2 separate regions of the Homo sapiens genome follow, and region 1 is linked to region 2. Evidence: promoter capture Hi-C in human tissues and cell types (Jung and others, 2019). All regions are on one chromosome and are shown on one strand. The core of a region is centred on a gene start or on the middle of the fragment in contact, and the rest is flanking DNA. Distances in the headings are between cores, read along the strand shown.

The links. Contacts are between HindIII fragments. The study calls those that stand out against the background at their distance.
Region 1: a fragment that was not itself captured here is called in contact with the fragment with the promoter of GRIA3 in region 2 in 1 of the 25 tissues and cell types used here (hippocampus).

Annotation. Positions count from the first base shown.
Region 1 is chrX:123,224,903-123,228,020 of GRCh38, forward strand. The region is part of intron 2 of GRIA3 (glutamate ionotropic receptor AMPA type subunit 3); the gene reads left to right. Among named protein-coding and RNA genes, the nearest start is that of GRIA3, 42 kb to the left of the region's middle. The HindIII fragment of the contact is 3,674 bases long and covers 1-3,118 here.
Region 2 is chrX:123,183,022-123,186,442 of GRCh38, forward strand. GRIA3 (glutamate ionotropic receptor AMPA type subunit 3) reads left to right here and starts at 1,257. Exons shown (of 16, transcript NM_007325.5): 1 at 1,257-1,623; 2 at 2,811-2,969. The coding sequence starts at 1,515. The HindIII fragment of the contact is 15,663 bases long and covers 1-3,421 here.

The DNA of each region.
Region 1 (3,118 bases), core at 416-2,915, 42 kb after region 2:
AGTTTTAAAATGTCACCTTGACCAACTAAAATGTCACCTCCTGTGTAAAATCTCCAGGCAGAATTAATCGTGGTTTCCTCTGAACTTTCTGCAAACCATAACTGTAGCACTTATGCACATTGTTTTACAATTAGGTGCGTGAAACCTCTTTAAAGATGGGGATTCTGCCACAGACTTCATGTTTAATATGTCTGGTTCTGGAATCAGAGACTTGGATTTTAGTACCAGCTCTGGCACTTACTAGGTATGTAATTTGGGGCAAGTCAACCGGTGTCTCTAAGCTTCAATGTTCTCATCTGCAAAACAATAACAATAGTGTTGCAAGTAAATGAGATAATGCATACAAAACACCTATAGTGCCTGACACATAATAAACACTCAACAAATGTTAGCTATGACTATTTTTCTGTGCCTGGCATATGGTCTTGCACGGAGCGAGTACCCAATAAATGATTACTGAATAAATTAATCATAGCATGGAAGACCTAAGAACATTTGCTAAATGGACAGTTTCTTCCTTTATTGAATCTTGGAATTCCTGTCAGAGGCATAAAAAATGGGTTACATAATGAATTTATTTCTCTGTAGTCAAGTAATAATTACAGTAGCAATTGGGATAACCAAAAGCTTTGTCTGTGCAGTTTATCTTTTGAACCTGAACCTATTACATCTTTAGTCCCAGGAACTACATGTTTTGAAGTGTACATTTCAAACTTCCTTTCCAAGATAAATCCAAAGACTTTTTTTCTACTCTAACATTTCACAAATAGGATGAATCAATTAATGTGATAATTATTTAATACACCAAGCAATAACTTTTAAGGTGTAATGGTAATTGAGCCCAGCATGCTTGAAAATACCATTCTCTGAGTCAGGTTCAGCAACATGTCTTGAAGTTGGGACCTTAGAGGCTTAATTCATTCTAAACCCCCTCTACCAATATAAAATTTAAATTAATGGTATTTCTGACTCTTGGTCCCTTTCACCTATAATTCTTCTTAATCTCTTGACCTCTATTTCATTCATGAAATCCCAAAAGATTATCTTTCACAGTGAACCCACAGTAATCTGTTTAATATCCCTTGATAAGAAATATCCCTTTAAAAAGCCAAATTCTGCCATGCTTTAAATAGAAACCCTATTTGCTGAGACAAGACAAACACTTATAGTCTTTTTCCTTTACTTGGTCCTAGAAAAGGCCCAAAATAAAACATACATGTCAAGTCCATTGTAAATGGATGTGGAAACCAGACATTTGAAGTGTTATCATCACCATCATTAGCATCATCATCACCATCATCTTCATCATCATTATCATAAAAAACAACATAACAACAGTTCAAGAAGTTTGGAAAATGAGGATATGGGTTTATCTAAAACTCCACTACCCACATAAAACTAGAATTATTTTTGTATATTTTTCCATTCTTTCTCATTGGCCTACATTTTTTCAAAGCTTGCTCCCAAGTATTCCCAGGTATACCAAGGAGATTTTAAGAACTTCAGAAAAACTGTGATTCTAAATGTATAACTGCCTAGAAAGTTTCCCATTGCTTCAGTTTTTCAGAGAAAGACACTCTGAGAGTACAGATGGTATAATGGCCCAAGTCTACAAAAAGTTTCATTTCTGTGCATACATACCACCCATTCTACGATAAGGTGTTGGGGATCAGCTGATGAGCTGACCAAACATGCCCATAATAATCCTGGACAAAGGCTGAGACCAGCACTTTTTACTTCAATTTGGACTCTGAAAGAAAAATTATATGAGGAAAGGTGAGGATTCCCTAATGATAATAACCTCAATCTTCATGATATTAAAACATAATAATTAAAAGGCAGAGAGAGACTTTAAAAACCCCATTGAGATTTCAAAAGAACAATACAATATGCAAATAGTCATTCTTGTATGCAGTTCATCATTGATTATCCATGAGAACAGAAAGGAGCTGAAGCTTTGGGGCATGTTCAGTAATATTTATCTGCAACTTCTAGCTTCCTGTCCCTCTCCCTGACCCCCTCCAATACACACACACACTTAGAATAATATTTATTTTAGATTATGTTTTGTATGTTCACGAAAATCTAATATGACCACTAATAAAAGCTGAGGTTTATGGCCTTGTTACCTTTGTCTCTCAAATTTATATTCCTTCATTATCTTCTGCACCTCTTGAAAACCACACAGATTCCTCCTCCTCTTTTTCCCTTTTCCCACTTATCTAGGCTAAATGATTTAATACTGCATTTTATAATATTTTATGTTGTTCTTGAATCATTTAATGTCACTTAAGGTTACTTCCTTAACTGGATCATGAGTTCTTTGACAATTTATGCATGGTACCTTTTTTTCTATCTGCTGTGATCCTTGTGACATAGACTATGAGTTACTTGAGGCCTTATTTTCCTTTGTCTCCTCAGCACTTATTACAGTACCTAACAGTGGAGCTATTCAATAAAGCAAATATTTAATAAAGGAATAAATGAATGGACGAATGAATGGATGGATGGATAAAAAGACAGCATCCAAGAAATGTTACCTAGCTGATGAGTGGACTTCAGAGCACTTGCCAGCAAGAAGGGTGGCCAGCAAGTGTTGATAAGTCAGTCAGCAATTACTTATTGAGCACCTACTATCTGCCAGACACAGATATTCTGTGGGGGAAGGGGAGGGGAACAAGAGAAAGCAGGCCTAGAATTGAAAATCAGATGTGTACAAGTCACAAAGTGGAACACAATTGCCCAATTGTCTGACTTTTTGTCATTATTTTCTGAGTGTAGCATGGGTGAATATTTTTCTCTACCATGAGGCAAACTAATTTGGGAGGCAGAGTATTACCATCTTTTCTACTATTCTCTTGTCTTAGGTTGAGTTGAATAGTTCAAGTATTGAGATGTGTAGTTTCTTCTGTAGTATCTTCCCTGCTCTGTCACCATCCTTTTCAGACAATAGAACATGAGTTGGAGAGACATTCTGAGTTCTAGTGAAGTCACTGAAGCCAACTTGCCAATGAGTAAGAGGTAAAGACCTAGGGTGTGAGGAAGGACTTGCATTCAAGGCTGTTTGAACTTTCCGTGTTAAGCCTTCGCTTCCATTTTGGAGACTGGAGCCTTTCAG
Region 2 (3,421 bases), core at 7-2,506:
CGCAGCATGCTATGGAGAAGGCCACCGTCACTGAAATCCGGTCTGTACTGTAGGACTTCATAGGTTCTTTGCTCGCCTTAGAGCAGAGGGGAAGAAGAGTCAGAAAGAATTGATAACCTCTGAGGTCATCAGTCAGGGGCCTAGGCTGCTAAGTCCAGAGGCAACACCAAGGGATCAATGCAGCTAGGTACAGTTTTCTCCAGCCTCAACTTTCAATCCCCACCCCCAGACCAGCTCATTCCCACACCTCCCTCCTCCTTGGTCAGTGAGCCTGAGCGTCCTTTTCATTAACCTTTTAGTTACTACCTCTACGCACATACTTTTTCCTATGCCCTCCAAAGAAGTCAGCCCCATACTGCCCATCACTGCTCAGCACCGCCCACCCCATGCCCCCGCAAGCCGGCCTCAGCACTAGTTTAAGGGGAGGGACACGCCTCCCAAAGCTGCGGGGATGGGGGTGGGGGTTGCTCACTCGCCCTCGGATCTCTGCTGTAAAAGCGGAGCGGCAGAGACCGGGCATGCGCAGCATCTTCGGGCGCATTGTGATGGGAACTGCTTCTCTGAGTCTCTACAAAGACTCCGGAGTAACCACTAATGGCCCTCCTAAGGCCCCCCTTCTTTAAGACAGACACACAAACACAGAGGCAATGCAGCTATTTTTTTTTAAAGGGTGGGAGGACGTTGCAGCTTGAAAGGTTGATCCACGTTAGGAGTGGTGTATTTCTATTGATCCCATCTCCGGTGTTGACAAACGCCAGCGCCTAGGCTTTGCAGTCCGGGGCTGCAGTTTGCAGTAGAGCTAAGCGGTGTGCGGCTTTAATTCCACGTCAGATCAACTTTGATCAATATCCCCCTACTGGCCCAATTGGAAGAGCCCAATTCACCGGCACTGAGCCTTTTCGCTCTTTCCTTTTTTTCCCCCCCTCTTTAGACCTACCATCTTTTGCGGGGGGGGGGGGGCGCGGAGAGAGTCTCAGATTGTCTTGATAATTTATTCTTTCGTTCTCTTTCTTTTGCTTCTCTATTTTTGTTTTTCAGTGTTTTGCTTGTTTTGTTCTGTTTTAGGATTTTATTCTCTCTCTCTCTCTCTCTCTCTCTCTCTCTCTCTCTCTCTATCATAGGGACAGAAATCGCTTTGGCAAACCCAGCTTGCAGCCAATGAACCCGCCTTCCAGATTGGTGTGAAGACAGAAGTGAGGTGGGGGGAAGGGAGGGGGTGTGAGAGATCCTGGGAGCGAGAGGGAGAGAGAGGGAGCAAGAAAGGAAGAGAGAGCGAGCGAGAGAGAGCGAGCGAATAAGAGAGAGAGTAAGAGGGAGAGAGAAGAAGAGGAAGAAGAGGAGGCGGCGGCAGCGGAGGAGGAGGAGGACTAGTGTGGGGTGGAAAGGAAGAGTGAGCGAGAGCAAGTTAAGGGGAGGGGGTGTAAGAGCCAGCGAATTCTTTTTCTTTTTCTATTATTATTTTGACGACTCCTGAGTTGCGCCCATGCTCTTGTCAGCTTCGTTTTAGGCGTAGCATGGCCAGGCAGAAGAAAATGGGGCAAAGCGTGCTCCGGGCGGTCTTCTTTTTAGTCCTGGGGCTTTTGGGTCATTCTCACGGAGGATTCCCCAACACCATCAGCATAGGTAAGCGCAAGCGAGCCAGCCGTCGGTCCAGGCTCTCCCTCACCCGAGACCACTGCCCCGGCAAGGCTTTCCCTGCGGTGGGTCCCTGTCCTGCGTGGCCTGGGAACTGGGACTGGGGCCGGGACCGGGCAGAGATGGTGCGGGGCGGGGGGCGGGGCGGGGGGAATCTGAGCCTCAACGAGGTGGCTGGTCTGAAGAGCCTCTGGGACAAGAGAGGGGTCTCCTGGGGCTAGTGGGGGTGAACTGCTAGGTTTTCCGAGCCGAGAGGAGCACCGGAGGCGAGCAGGAGGCTGGGATGCTGCAAGGGGGTGAAGAGTCGAGGCTTTTCGGCTCGCTGCTCTGGACTTTGCCATGGCGTGCGTGCAGCTCCTGGAAGTTGTCCCAGGGTGATGCCGACTGTCTGGCCGCGCCAGGGCGCATAACCCGGGCCCGGGGTGCTCAGTCCGTGGTCTCCGGCTGTCGGGAGACAGGCTGGTGCTGGGGGAGGTGGAGCCCACTTTGGATCTCCCAGACCCGGGCAGCAGCAGGCGTTGGTGGTGGATGGGGTAGGAGGCGGGGGTGAGACTAGGAGCTGAGCGGGCAAGCGGCGAAGTCACGCAGACCACGAATTCATGAATTGCCGCTGTGTCTGTCTGGAGCCCGGCTCCTGGGCGCCTGGAGGGAGTTATCTTGGCTTCTGTCGTATTTACAAGTCTAGAAGTTAGAATTTTTGCCATTACTGAACCAACCCCCTGTATTGTCACGGGGGAGGGTGGCTATGGGGAACGGGTTGGGGTAGCAGGGGGAACAATATTGTTTTTCTTCCCAACCTTTCCCTTCACACAATGAAAAGATGACCAGCTGTGCGGATGGGCGGGGGGCGGAGGGGGGGGGCGACTAAAAAAAAAGAAGGCTGCCGACTAAGAAAGAACCAAGTCTCACTCTTGGTTCCATCGTCCTAACCCAAAACGGCTCCCTCGTCTCTTCTCCCTTCTCTCTAGCCTCTTCTTTTCAGTCTAGAAAAGCCAGGTTTCTCTTGGCCAAAATCTGAGTTCACAAGTCTTGAAAGACACACAGGTTGAATATCAATCCTCAATCCCACACCCCAGTATCATTGAGAGGTATCCGGTATCTATATTGTTCCCCAATTCCTAACTGGCCCTAGTGTGGGGGAACACAAGCCAAATCTCCGTTCCCTTTGCTTATAGGTGGACTTTTCATGAGAAACACAGTGCAGGAGCACAGCGCTTTCCGCTTTGCCGTGCAGTTATACAACACCAACCAGAACACCACCGAGAAGCCCTTCCATTTGAATTACCACGTAGATCACTTGGATTCCTCCAATAGTTTTTCCGTGACAAATGCTTGTAAGTAGATCTGCTTTTCCTCCCTTTGGGACGTTGGGGACCTCATTTGCATCTTTCTTGTGGCACTTAGGGTCTGTGTATGTGCTGGGAGATGATTGCTTCAGTAGATATTTTAGGGGCTCTAATCCATCCGGTTTCATGTTGCATAAATCAACTCCAAATGATACTGCTGAGGGGCTTAAGACAGTGGGAAAAACTCAAGACAGTGGGCAAAAGTCTGCTCCAAATAGTGTTTGATGCAAAAGTTTCATTTTCCTCCATGCTAACCTAGTGTGTTCCTTCTCCAACACTCTCTCTCTTTTTTTTTTAACTGGGGAAAAAAAAAGAAAGAAAGAAAAAAATAGCACGGTTGTTCAGAGAAATTTCTTCAGATGAGATTTAAAAAAGCAGCAGCAGCTTCTTGATTGAGTCAATTCAGGATGTACATCACTTGACTGTTAAAGCTAGTGCCT